Regions from separate parts of the Homo sapiens genome. Here regions 1 and 3 are each linked to region 2. Evidence: promoter capture Hi-C in 16 types of primary human blood cells and fetal thymus (Javierre and others, 2016). All regions are on one chromosome and are shown on one strand. The core of a region is centred on a gene start or on the middle of the fragment in contact, and the rest is flanking DNA. Distances in the headings are between cores, read along the strand shown. Region 1 overlaps KCNN3 (potassium calcium-activated channel subfamily N member 3). Region 2 holds the start of KCNN3 (potassium calcium-activated channel subfamily N member 3). Region 3 has its middle 36 kb from the start of ADAR.

The links. Contacts are between HindIII fragments. The CHiCAGO score rates a contact against its expected background, and 5 or more counts as called.
Region 1: a fragment that was not itself captured here is called in contact with the fragment with the promoter of KCNN3 in region 2 in 1 of 17 cell types (endothelial precursors); the score reaches 5.1 in endothelial precursors.
Region 3: a contact is called between a fragment that was not itself captured here and the fragment with the promoter of KCNN3 in region 2, in 2 of 17 cell types (M2 macrophages and M0 macrophages). The highest score is 6.2, in M2 macrophages.

Annotation. Positions count from the first base shown.
Region 1 is chr1:154,737,307-154,741,784 of GRCh38, forward strand. The region is part of intron 3 of KCNN3 (potassium calcium-activated channel subfamily N member 3); the gene reads right to left. Among named protein-coding and RNA genes, the nearest start is that of KCNN3, 130 kb to the right of the region's middle. RefSeq lists enhancers at 1-254, 4,308-4,478. The HindIII fragment of the contact is 1,184 bases long and covers 2,247-3,430 here.
Region 2 is chr1:154,867,168-154,871,972 of GRCh38, forward strand. KCNN3 (potassium calcium-activated channel subfamily N member 3) reads right to left here and starts at 3,114. Exons shown (of 8, transcript NM_002249.6): 1 at 1,865-3,114. The coding sequence starts at 2,797. RefSeq lists enhancers at 938-1,457, 2,865-3,821, 2,894-2,983. The HindIII fragment of the contact is 14,105 bases long and covers 1-4,805 here.
Region 3 is chr1:154,642,246-154,646,557 of GRCh38, forward strand. No RefSeq gene overlaps it. Among named protein-coding and RNA genes, the nearest start is that of ADAR, 36 kb to the left of the region's middle. The HindIII fragment of the contact is 6,261 bases long and covers 1-4,312 here.

The DNA.
Region 1 (4,478 bases), core at 1,589-4,088, 130 kb before region 2:
CTTTCAGGGTGTGGACTATGGATTTTTTTTCACTTCTTAACATGAAATAAATGAGAGATACAAAAGACTGTATGACTTGGCAAAGATGGTAGAGACATATGTCTACTTTTGCTCACTCAAATCCCTTACAGCTCAAAGTTGTTAGTCTCCTACTTTTAAAAATAAGCAGGCAACCAGGAATCCCCAGACAGTCAGGAGTCTCTAACATGAAAGACACAGATCAAACCAGTCAACTAAACAAACAAAAAGAAGGAACTCTGGATCAAATACAGACCATTCACAGAGAGAACTCTTGAAGGAAAAATCCTATAATTAACGTAAGAGAGAGAAAATAAGATACTGGACCCACGAGACAAGAATGGAATGCTGTATGAAAAAAGTCTTCCTAGAGGGGCTGGAAGATGATAAATCGAGGAATTCTCCCAAAAAGCAGAAAAAGACAAAGAATGAAAATGAAAGAAAATATGAAGTTAGGCATTGTGGTGTGTGCCTGTATCCCCCAGCTGCTCGGAGGCTGAGGCAGGAGGATTGCTCGTGCCCAGGAGGTTGAGGCTGCAGTGAGCTATGATTGTGCCCCTGCACTTCAGCCTGGGGACAGAGCAAGACCCCCATCATCTCTTAAAAGGAGAGAGAGGGAAAGAAAATATGAGAAAATTAGTGAATCAGTCTCCCAATTCAAACAGTAGAAGTTACAGAAAGAAACAACTGGGGGGAAAAGAAGGAGAAAGAAGGAGAGAAGTAATTATTTTAAAAATCATTCAAAAACAAAAATCCCCAGAACTTAAGGGCATGAGTTTCTAGATCAAAGGCTCACTGTCCCCAGCACAGTGGATGAAAATAGATGCACACCAAGGCACATTATTGTGAAATTTCAGAACACCAGGGGAAAGGAGACAATCCTACAGAGCTTTAGGGGTTTTGGGGGAGGGTATAAAAGAGGCCAAATACAAAGAACCAGAAATTACAACAGCTTCGGACTTTTTGACAGCAACACTGGAAGCTAGAAGGCCATGGAATAAAGCCTTCAAAATTCTGGAGGAAAATTATTTCCAAATCAGAATTCCAAACCAGAGACCAGAAATCTGAATTGGCCAAAGTATTAGTTCAGTCTGAGGGTGGAACGAAGACATTTTCAGATACGTAAGGTTGTCACGGGTTTGCCTCCCATGCACCCTCTCTCAGGAAGACACAGGAGGTATGCTTCACCAAAACAAAGAAGTAAACCAAGGAGGAAGACAAGGAATAAAGGTAACGAGCTCAGGGTGATGCTACAGGGAGGCCCTCATAGGACAGGTGCTCACCAGGTGCGGAGGACAACCCGTCCGGGCTGGAGCAGGTCAAGAGGCTCTGGGAGACACTTCCAAGGAGATGAAATTGATAGGAAACTTAATGTGCCTGAACATCCTGAAAAGAGGTTTAGACAACTGCCAGAGTTTGCACTTGCATTAATGACGAATACATAGAAAACTAAGCAAACAAACAAACACGATCATTAACAACTCCAGGAAAAATGAAAAGTTCTGCAGGAAGGGAAAAGTTATCATATTTTTTACTACAAGGCTCAACTATGAATAGAGTCAAATTAGTGTTGACTGAGTAATGTAAACACTGATTACTGCTTTAACCAAAATTATGATGTAATTATAAAAGGAAGATGAAGGGAGAGGAAGAGTTGGAGGAGAGGAAAGGGAGCTAAATTTTCATCTCCCAGAGTGGGAAGGGAATAGATAATACCTAAATAAACCAAAGCATCAAAAGGTAGCAATACACACATATTACTTACAGACATGGAGGTAAATACTAAAATTAATTAGCAAAAGAAGGTAAAAGTAGCTGCCTCTGGAGAACAGTAAATGGGAAGAGCTGGTGGAAGACAGCAAATACCACGGAAGGATTGACTCTACAGTGTATGCACATGTAACTTTGATCATATCAACAGAACACCAAACCAAAGAGAAAAAACAAAACTACATGCAACATTAAATGACATCAAGAAACACAGAAAGAAAATAAGCACCATGAACTCACCATCCAGCTCCAACCTGTGGGATCTACTTGTATGTTCTCTCCATTCTTAGTGCCCCCCACCCCAGGATCATCATTACCCTGAATGTCATGTTTATCATTTCCTCGTTTTTCTTCATAGTGCTTCCATGTAGGCAGGATTACCTAAGCAATATGTAATTTCATTTTTCCTATTTCCGACCTTCATAAGGATGAAATCATACCACAAGAGTATGGTAGGAAGCTTCTAAAATGACCTCGATATCCCCCCTCCTCTTGAGGTCTTCACACACTTTTGCAATCCTTTCCTTTTGAGTGTGGGCTGGACCAAGTAACTGGTTTCTAACACATAGAGTATGGCAGAAGTGATAGACTTTCATTTCTGAAGTTAGGTTATGGTAAGATCATGGCTTCTGTCTTGGGTGATCTCTCACTAGTTATCTTTTGGATCACTCTCCCTGGGAGAATCCACAGGCCATGTCGGGAGGCAAGCCCGTGGAGTGCCACATGGCAAGGGACACAGCCTGCCAACCACCACATGAGTAGCTTAGAAGCAGGTGTTCTTTAAGTCAAGCCTTGAGGTGAGACCACAGCCCTGGCTGACAGCCTGACAATCTCATGAGAGAACTTGAGGCAGAGGTACCCATTTAAGCTGCACCTGAATTCCTGACCCACAGCAACCCTGAGATGGTAAATGTCTGCTGTTTTTAGCTGCTAAATTTTGGAGCAAGTTGTTATGTAGCAACAGATAACTAATACAGTGAACTCTTCTATGAATTGCTTCTTTTCTGTTCAACATATATATTATATTGACATATGTAGCTATAGTCTATTTTTATTCCTGTATTGTATTTCATCATATGAATATGGCATGATTTATTTATTCATTCACCTGTTGATGGACAGTGGGATAGCTTACGGGTTTTTCCTCTAATGAGAAATACTGCTACAAACATTATTTTTTATTGACTTATTGTTATTGTATTTTTAGAGACAGGGTCTTACTCTGTTGCCCAGGCTGGACTGCAGTGGCACAATCATAGCTTACTGTAGCCTCAAACTCCTGGGCTCAAGAGATTCTCCTGCCTTGACCTCCTGAAATGTTGGGATTACAGGCATGAGCCACCTCACCCAGCCCAAACATTCTTAATCATAGCTCCTGGTACACTGCATAAGAGTTTCTCTAGGACACATACCTAAGACTGGGTTTGCTGGTTTGTAGGATATGTACATATTTCACTTCATTAGGAAATGTCAAGTTGTTTTCTAAGATGCCAGTGCCAATTAGGCTTCCACCAGAGGTGGATAAGAGTTCCTGTTTCTCCATATCCTCATTAACACTTGCCATTGTCTGACTTTAATCTCTGCCACACTAGTGGGTGAATTGGGATCTCATCAAGACTTGACTTTACGTTTCCATGATAAAAGCTTAAGTAGCCTTTCATATGTTTCTTTGTCATTCATACTTTCTCTTCTGTGGCGTGTCATTCATGACTTTTGTCCACTTTTCTATTGGCTTGTTTTTGTTTTTTCTCATTGATTCTAAAAGTTATTTATATATTCTAGATAATAAGAATTTTGTCAGTTTGTGTGTTGCAAATATCTTCTTCCAGTGTGTGCCTTGCCTTTTTCTCTACAGTATTTTTGATGAATAGAAGTTTTAAATTTTACTGTAGGTGACTTTATCATCCTTTAATTTATAATTAGCAGTTATTTGGTTTTTGCAGAAATCATTCCCTCCCTGAGATTGTAACATTTTTACATATTTTAAAATGTTGCCTTTCTAAGTCTTCAATTTGCCTGGAATTGATTTTGCATATGGTGTGAGGCAGGGATACAACTTCATTTTTTTCACATGGGTAAGCAATTATCTCAGTTTCACTTAATGTGCAGACCATCCTTTCTCCTACTAGCTTTCAATGCTCCCTCTGTCTCATAAATTATATGTGGAAGTGGTACTATTTCTTGGTTCTCTATTCTGTTCCATTGGTCTATTTGTCTAACCCTGAAGTTATATTACAGTATTCTCTGTAGCCTTTCCTTGGTACCTTCTGAGGGTCTAGCACATAATAGGGGCTCACTAAAATACTTGTGGACTGACTAAGGCCTGCATGCTGCTTTTCCTGTCCCTCTACAAAAGTGAGGCTTGCTTCAGTAATTCAGTGAATCATGTTAAAATGATTTCAGCTGTTCTCTTCAGCAGATTAAACCTTTGTCAAGGTGGCTGCCAAATTCCTTGAGCTTGGAGTCAGTTCTCACTATTAATAAGAACTCAGCTTCATGACACTAGCTGTGATCTGTTACAGCACTAGGGTGACAGAAAATAAGCCAAAGTGAAATGACTGCCTCTTCTTCCTTATTCTCCAAAAGAATTTGAATACTTTTTAAAACTAGTTTTGTAAAAAAAAAAAAAAAAGGATTCTTTTCACATGGATCTACATGATATGACGGCTCTAGCCATTTGTCCTGGGTCT
Region 2 (4,805 bases), core at 1,864-4,363:
GGCTGTGACCAGGGCAGCTGCCAGTCCTAGCGAGGCTGCCAGCCCCATATCCTGGAGCGCCCAGCAGGAGAGGCGGTTCTGAGAAGGCAGCGAGCAGAAGGACCCGCAGACGCAGAGGCTCATTACAGGGAATGACTAAGTGAGCTGCGCTTCCAAGGGAAACCCCACTCGCTTCTGCTCGCTGAGACGCTCATCCTTGAGCTATTTTGACTAAGGCGGCTTCCAGGTGCTGCCCTCCGCTGGGGCAGCCCACTGAGAGAGCAGCCGGGTTGCTGGAGGACCCTCTGCCTGGAAGTCTTGGTCCTGGCTATTCAGGTCGTCTGACAGGTCTGCCCCACCCGTTTCCAGGGCGGGAAAGTCTGCCCATCACCGATTAAAGTGAGATGCTGGGAATGGGGGAAATCCGATCAGCACCTCCTAGGTTTTTGCGGCTGGATTTCAATAAGGAATGTGACAGTCTCGCAGCAGCTGTGCCCTGCCTGAAACAAGCTCTATTTGAAACCTCCAACAGCTGAACCCCTCCCAGCTACCCGATGGCCAGCCCGCCCAGCCACCCCCCCACCAAGCCACCCCCTGCCCCAAATGACAAATAAATAGAAAAACCCAAGCAACAAGCAGGCGCATGCATACGTACAAACATTACGCACATACACACACACACACCAACAAATTGGGGGTGGGGGTATCGTGGAGCCACTTGTCCACCGATTCCCAGGTCTCCAAGCCTTCCAGCCCACAGCAGGAGAGCTCCCCGGCAAGCAGAGCATCGGCAGAAACCCACCTTCCTCCATCTCCACTCCCTCTGGGAGGGAAACCCCCTCCTCCGTCTTGGGGCTGGACTGAGAGGCTGGAGCAGTGGGGCCAGCTCCCCGCTAAAGCCAGTGCCTGCTGTTCTCCATCCGGGCGCGCACTCACACACACACTCATCTTTATTTATCCCAAGGAGGAGTTGAGGTGGGAGGGGAGAACTGGGGCTGAGCTGGGGCGCGGGCTTGTGGGGACCGCCTGGGAAGCCCTGTCATCCCGTCCCAAGGAGAGGTGCTCCCCCAGCTGATTCCAAGGCGGCGCCCAGCTGCTCTGCCCAGGTAACACCTGTAGCCATTTTTATCAGGAGATGTTTACGAAGCAGCAGCAGGTTTATTCTGAGTCCTCTCTCCTGAGGGAAAGGACCACTGATTTCCTCCACCTATATTTTTACCCCATGCCCTCAGGAGACCCAGGTCATGGATGGTTTTCTATTTTGCCCGAGACTCTCTGAGAAGAGGAGGGAAACAGAAACTTGGGAAGAGATGGAGAAGACAGGGAGAGAAGGGACTTGGGCAATGGTACGGAATCCCCACCCCCCACCCAGACATTTATTTCTTTTTTATCCTCAGGAAAATGGAGTGGAGCAGGGAGGGGAGGAAAGAAGGGGAAGTCGCAGGAACTGGCAAACACATGAAGGCGGAGTGTAATTAATTGGTGCGTTAAGCTGCTGGGTTATGCTTTAGTACGAGTGAGCCAGGAGGAAAAGCGATTTCTCAGAAGGGATTATTGAATCCTCCCTAACAGAGAGTCTGCAAATTAGACACAGTGTGTGGGGATGTCCCCTACCCCCCAGAGGAAGCTAGGAATGAATTCTCCCGGGATCAAGAAGGAAAACCACGGGAAGTTAGAGTGTTGAATATAACTGAGCAAGCGCCTCTCACCACCACCACCACCTCTCTCTCCCAGTCTCCCTCCCAATCTCTCAATCTCTCTCTCTCTCTCTCTCTCTCTCTCTCTCTCTCAATCTCTCTCTCTCACAATCCCCCTCTCTCAATCCCTCTCTTGCTACCTACATATTCCTTTTGTTCAAGGTATAAAGAGAAACCACAGCCCCTACCTTTGAGTACAAACCCCAAGAGAGCTCGGTCTCTATCACCATAACAACAATTCCAAACATCCCAAAAATCAGAGCATAGTCACTCAGTCGCTTTCTCTTTTCAAACAGGGCCCTCCTGTGTCCCAGCTTATAGCCAATGTTTTGGTTTTTCCGCTTGTTGGCTTTGGGGAAGGTGGTGCTGCTGGCGGTGGTGCCGGCATGCTGGTGGTTGTGGGTGGCATTAGGGTGATGGAGCAGGGTCTGGTGGGCATGGTTGTCCTCCCGGGAGGAGATGACGATCTCCGGGGGGTTGCTAGGGCTGAAAAGCTGGAGGGGTTGGCCCTCAGTCTCGGCCTCGATGAGGTTCCTCCGGGAGGCGCTGAGGCGGCTGAGGGGCTTCATGACCCCACCGCTATACTTGCAGGAGCTCATGGCGATCTCCGTGAAGGGGTTGCTGTCCCGCCGGTGCACCAGGGGGCTGGCCTGTCGGTGCCGGCTGCCTCCGCCAGGCCCACTTGTAGCTGTGGAACTTGGAGAGTGGCCAAGCAAGTGGTCATTGAGATTGAGCTGGCTGCCTTGCCTGGAGGAAGGGTGGAGGATGGCGGTGGAGTTGGACGAAGGGGGGGCCCTGAAAGCGGTGGGAGAGGAGTGCAGCAGGCCAGGGTGGACGGGCTGGCTCTGGAGTTGGGCGAGCTGAGACAGGGGATGCGGTGGCTGCTGCTGCTGCTGCTGCTGCTGCTGCTGCTGCTGCTGCTGAAGCTGCGGAGGCTGAGGCTGCAGCGAGGGTCCCAGGGGCTGCTGGGGGGCTGCTGGTGGCGCTGGCGGTGGTGGCTGCTGCTGCTGTTGCTGCTGCTGCTGCTGCTGCTGCTCATCCCCAGAGGATGGACAGGGGCACTTGGGGTCTTCATCCAAGTCCCCCACCCCCGAGTCATGGAAGTGCCCAGAAGTGTCCATCTTGGGGCCTGGCTGTATTCCCTGCAGCACAAGCCCCCACCCCAAAGCCACCCTCGCTCCAAAGATGTCCTCAAAGAAAGCCAGGCATCCAATCTCCCCCACCAGTATCTTGGCTCCAGTCCTCTCTTTGGCTTGCTTCGGTTCTCTGGGGCTGCCTGGAGTCCAGACGCTGCCACTCAAGAATGCATTGTATTGGGCAGGGAGGGAGAGCAGGAGGGGAGCTTGGAGAAAGAAGAGGGGGTGAAAGAACTCTCTCAGGAGGTGGTCCTCTAGGAGCGTGTGAGGCCAGGCTCAGCTTCACTCCTCGCTGGCTCAATAGCTTCGCTCGCCTCCTCCTGCCACTGTTACATTGTAAGCCAAGCCCACTTATTAGCAGCTGGTCTCATTGGCTTGGCTTAACTCTCCAACCTCCTCCTAGCTCCGCCCCCCGCATAGGCTCCTCCCCAGAGGAGGGGCCTGGCGTCCTGGGCTCCGGCCCCAGTGGCGGCGCAGCGAGGACTGGGAACTGTAGTTTTTGCTCCCCCACCCCGGAGCTGAGCCGCTGTCCTCTTTCCTCTGACAGGTATGGCCACAACCCTTAAGCCCACGGCGATAAGGGATGTTCGCTCACGCTGGGCGATGGGGAGGAGGGACAGAGGGCCTCCGAAGGAGGGGAGGTGTGCACCCTGATGAGGGGGCAGACGGAGGGGAAGGCAAACATTTATTAACCACCAGGGTTTACGATAGGTTGTTTCACATATATTATCCGGATACAGTCTCCAAACACCCAAGGAGGTGGGCAGTATGGTCTCATTTACAAAGCCTGATGCTTAGAGGTGTTGAGTAACAACGTCAAGGTCACAGAAGCAGGGGGGATCCACACCTTCTAACACCCGGTGGATAAACTCACCTACCATTGACTGAGTGCCTACGCCTCGTGTTCAGGGTCCTCTCTGTTATTTCCAACCCTCACATCAACCCCACAAAAATGATGTCATCACTCTCCTTTTACAGATGAAAATTGGAAGAAGAAGAAGAAGAAGGAGAAGGAGAAGAAGGAGAGAAAGGAAAGTGGAAAAAACACTCAAACGCTCAAACATAGATATGTAACTTGTCAGATGTCATCCCGCTTGTAATTAAAGATGCTGGGATTTGAACTTAGTCAGTCTGACCCCACAGATCAGATACTTTCTCCCAGGATGCATTTCCACTATGATATTCAGTACAAAGTGGTTGTTCAATAAATATTGTTCAAATGTTAGTTGGGGAAAACAAAAGAGAAGCTGCTGAGGAAGAACTGGCCTCTCCAAAGCAGGGTGTGTGAAGTGGACCATGGCTCCAGCCCCTTCCCTAACAGCTGGGTGTGTAGTCACAGGGGGATCTGGCAGGAAGACTGAAGATTCCCCCATGGTCATTCCCTGCCTGATTTGCCCCATGGGGCTCTGAGAGTCAGAACTAGGAACAGCTGCTGGCTTCCCAGGTTCAGAACCATCATCATCAAGTATTTATTAAGCCCCCACTGTGTGCAGAGGGGGTTCCAAAGGATGGGACCAGAGCTGAATTCATTTTCATTTCTAACCACAGCAGCCTTAGGAATCAGAAAGGAAGTCACCATGAGGGAATTCCCCAGAACACCTGGGGTTTTAAAAGGCAGGCCTCTTCCTCTCTGGCTCTTGATTCCCCATCACCCTTTGGCCTCTGTCCAGCTCCCTCCCTCGATGGGAAGAGGAAAGGGTAGGAGATCCATGCACACATACACAGACACACATCCAGAAAACATGTAAGCAGGTGGACATATGTGCACATGTGTACATGGTTGTGTGCACACACTAGCCCATGCATGCACACATGCACACATATACACATAGGAAGCTCCTAAAACAGCATTCCTGACTGGTAAGCAGCAAGTGTCCAGATCAGGGAGGGACAGAGCCCCCCCAAAATGAGCCCAGAGTCCCCTCTGTATATCAGTTCTCACCTCTCCAATCCCCCATTAACCCTGATGATTGAGAGCTAAATATTACTTGTA
Region 3 (4,312 bases), core at 40-2,539, 230 kb before region 2:
TCTCCCTCACTAATAACCTCCAGCAACCACTGACCTTTTTACCATCTCCATAGTTTTGCCTTTTCCAGAATGTTATAGATTTGGAATTATACAGAATGTAGACTTTTCAGATTGGCTTCTTTCACTTAGTAATATGCATTTAAGTTGCCTTCATGTCTTTTCATGGCTTTATAACTTCTTTCTTTTTAGTGTTGAATAATATTCCCTTGTCTGTATGTATCACAGCTTATTTATCCATTTATTTATCTACTGATAGACATGTCCACTTATTTATCTACTGAAAGATATATTAGTTGCTTCCAAATATTGGCAATTATGAATAAAGCTGCTATAAACATCTGTGTGCAGGAGTCTTAGTCTGTTTTCTGCTGCTCCAATAGACTACTACAGACTGGGTAACTTACAAACAATATAAGTTTATTTGGCTCATGGTCCTGGAGGCTGGAAGGTTCCAGAACATGGCATCAGCATCTGATGAGGGTTTTAGGGCTGCATCATCTCATGGTGGAAGATGAAAGGGCAGGAAGGCACACACAACAGTGAGAGAGAAAGGTGGCCAAACTCATTCTTTTTATTTTATTTTTTATTTTCATTTTTTTAGAGATAGGGTTTTGCTCTGTCACCCAGGCTGGAGTGTAGTGGCATAATCATAGCTCACTATAACCTTAACACCTGGGCTTAGGTGATCTTCCTGCCTCAGCTTCCTGAGTACTCAGCTGGGACTAAAGGCACATGCCACCACTTTTGCCAATTTTTTTTTCTTTAATTTTTTGTAGAGACAGGGTTATATTGCCCAGGCTGGTCTTGAGCTCCTGGCCTCAAGCAATTCCTCACTTCTTGGCCTCCCAAAGTGCTGAGTTTACAGCCATGAGCCACTGCATCTGGCCAAAATCATTCTTTTATCAGGAACCCACTCCCATGATAACTAACCCATTCCTTAGATAATGGTGTCCATAAGAATCACCTCTTAAAGGTCTCACCTCTCAACACTGCTGCATTGGGGAGGAAATTTCCATCACATGAACTTTGGGACATATTTATACCATAGGAACAGATTTTTGTGTGAACGTAAGATTTCAGTTCATTTGGGTAAACACCAAAGAGTGTGAGTGCTGGATTGTGTGTTGAAAATGTTTGGTTTTGCAAGAAACCACTACACTGTTTCCAAAGTGACTATACTATTTTGCATTCCTGCCTGCAATGGATGCAAGTTCCTGTTGCTCCACATCCTTGTCAGTATTTGGTATTGTCAGCGTTCTTGATTTTGGCCGTTCTAATAGAGGTATAGTGGTATCTTGTTTTAATTTGCATTTCCCTGATGATACGATGAGCAGCATCTTTTCATATGCTTATTTGCCATTTGTATATCTTCTTTGGTGAGGTGTCTGTTGAGATCGTTGGCCCCTTTTATATTTCTTTATTTTTAATTGACATATAATAATTGTACATATTGGCTGGGCACAGTGGCTCACGCCTGTAATCCCAGCACTTTGGGAGGCCGAGACGGGCGGGTCACGAGGTCAGGAGCTTGAGACCATCCTGGCTAACATGGTGAAACCCCATCTCTACTAAAAATACAAAAAAATTAGCCAGGTGTGGTGGTGGGTACCTGTAGTCCCAGCTACTCCGGAGGCTGAGGCAGGAGAATGGTGTGAACCTGGGAGGTGGAGCTTTGAGCCGAGATCACACAACTGCACTCCAGCCTGGGCAACAGAATGAGACTCTGTCTCAAAAAAAAAAAAAAAAAATAATAAAAATTGTACATATTAATGAGGTACATGTGATATTTCAATACATGTTTACAATGTGTAATGATCAAATAAGGGTCCAGTTTTTAGCTGGGTTGTTTACTTTTTTATTACTTAATTTTAATAGTTCTTTGTATATTTTGGATAACAGTCCTTCATCAGATATGTCTTTTGTAAATATTTTCTCCTAGTGTGGTTTCTGTCTTTATTCTCTTGACAGTGTCTTTCACAGAGCAGAAGTTTTTAATTTCAACAAAAGTCCAGCTTATTAATTCTTTCTTTCAAGGATTGTGCCTTTGATGTTGTATTTTTTTTTTTTTTGAGACAGATTCTCGCTCTGTCACCCAGACTAGAGTGCAGTGGCACGATCTCGGCTCACTGCAACCTCTGCCTCCCGGGTTCAAGTGATTCTTCTGCCTCAGCCTCCCGAGTAGCTGGGACTACAGACACACGCCACCACACCCAGCTAATTTTTGTATTTTTAGTAGAGATGGAGTTTCACCATATTGGCCAGGCTGGTCTCAAACTCCTGACCTCGTGATCCACCCACCTTGGCCTCCCAAAGTGCTGGGATTACAAGCGTAATTACAGGCCTGGCCTGATGTATCTTAAAAGCCATTGCCAAACCCTAGGTCATCTAGATGTTCTCCTATGTTATCATCTAGGAGTATTACAGTTTTAAAAGTTTTTATAGCTCTGCCTTTTGTATTTAGGTTTACGGTCCATTTTGAGTTAATTTTTGTTAAGTCTGTGTCTAGATTTTGTGTGTGTGTATGGATGTCCACATATTCCAGTATCATTTGTTGAAAAGGCTATCTTTTCCCCATTACATTGCCTTTGCTTCTTTGTCAAAGATCAATTGACTATATTTACATGGGTCTATTTCTGGGTTTTCTATTCTGTTCCACTGCTGTATTTGCTTTTTTTTTTTTTTTTTTTTTTGCTGATATCACACTTCTTAATTAAAATATTATGGGCGCGGTGGCTCACTCCTATAATCCCAGCACTTTAGGAGGCCAAGGCGGGCAGATCACCTGAGGTCAGGAGTTTGAGACCAGCCTGGCCAACATGGTGAAACCTCATCTGTACTAAAAACACAAAAATTAGCTGGGCCTGGTGGTGTGCACCTGTAATCCCACCTACTTGGGAGGCTGAGGCAGGAGAATTGCTTGAATTGGGGAGGCGGAGGTTGCGATGAGCTGAGATGACGCCACTGCACTCCAGCCTGGGGGACATAGCAAGACTCCATCTCAAAAAAAAAAAAAAAGTATTATGGGAGGAAGTCTTGAAGTCTGGTAATATCAGTTACACAACTTTTTTCTTCTCTTTCAATATTGTGTTAGCTATTCTGGTTCTTTGGCCTCTCTGTAAAACTTAGGATCAGTTTGCCAATATCCACAAAATAACTTGTTGAGATTTTAATTGACATTTCATTGACTCTATAGATAAAAGTTGCTTTCATTTTTGAATGTTGGGCTTTTACTGAGCTACCTTTTTTTTTTTTTTTTTTTTTTTTTTTTTTTTTTTTGAGACGGAGTCTCGCTCTGTCGCCCAGGCCAGACTGTGGACTGCAGTGGCGCAATCTCGGCTCACTGCAAGCTCCGCTTCCCGGGTTCACGCCATTCTCCTGCCTCAGCCTCCCGAGTAGCTGGGACTACAGGCGCCCGCCACCGCGCCTGGCTAATTTTTTGTATTTTTAGTAGAGACGGGGTTTCACCTTGTTAGCCAGGATGGTCTCGATCTCCTGACCTCATGATCCACCCGCCTCGGCCTCCCAAAGTGCTGGGATTACAGGCGTGAGCCACCGCTCCTGGCCTTTTTTTTTTTTTTTTTTTTGAGACAGAGTCTCACTTTGTCACCCAGGCTGGAGTGCTGTGGCACAATCTCCGGGGGCCGCCACCTCCTGGGCTCAAGCGATTTCCCACCTCAGCCCTCCAAATAGCTGGGACTACAGGCATATGCCACTACACCTGGCTATTTTTAATTTTTTGTATTTTTGGTAGAGACAGGGTTTCACCATGTTGCCCAGGCTTGTCTCAAACACCTGAGCTCAAGCGATCCTCCTGCCTTAGCCTCCCAAAATGCCATGATTGCAGGCGTGAGCCACCACACCTGGTCTCAGATACCTAATTTAATTATCTTATTAGTCATCGTAATTTTTAATGGATTCTTTTGGTGTTTCTGTGTAGACAATATTGTCCAGAAGTAGTGATTATTTTGTCCCTTCCAATTTCGCTTTTGCTCTCTTTCGTTCTTACGTCATTGTCTGCGATCAACAGTAAAACTTAGCAGTGATTTCCTTGTCTTGTTCACTCCATTTATTTAGCAGAATTTATTGAACCCCCATTATGTATTAGGCATAGTTTTACCTGCTGAGGATACAGCTGTGAAAAAAATAGTCAGAGTACCTGCCCTGATGAAAATTGTACTTTGGTTTGGAGAAGAAAAAGACAGAAAAAATAAATGAGCATATAATTTCAGGTAGTATAATAAAGAAAAATCAAGCAGAGGAAGGAGAAGGACAGTTGTATTCCTTCATTTTGTGTTGCTATAAAGGAACTTTA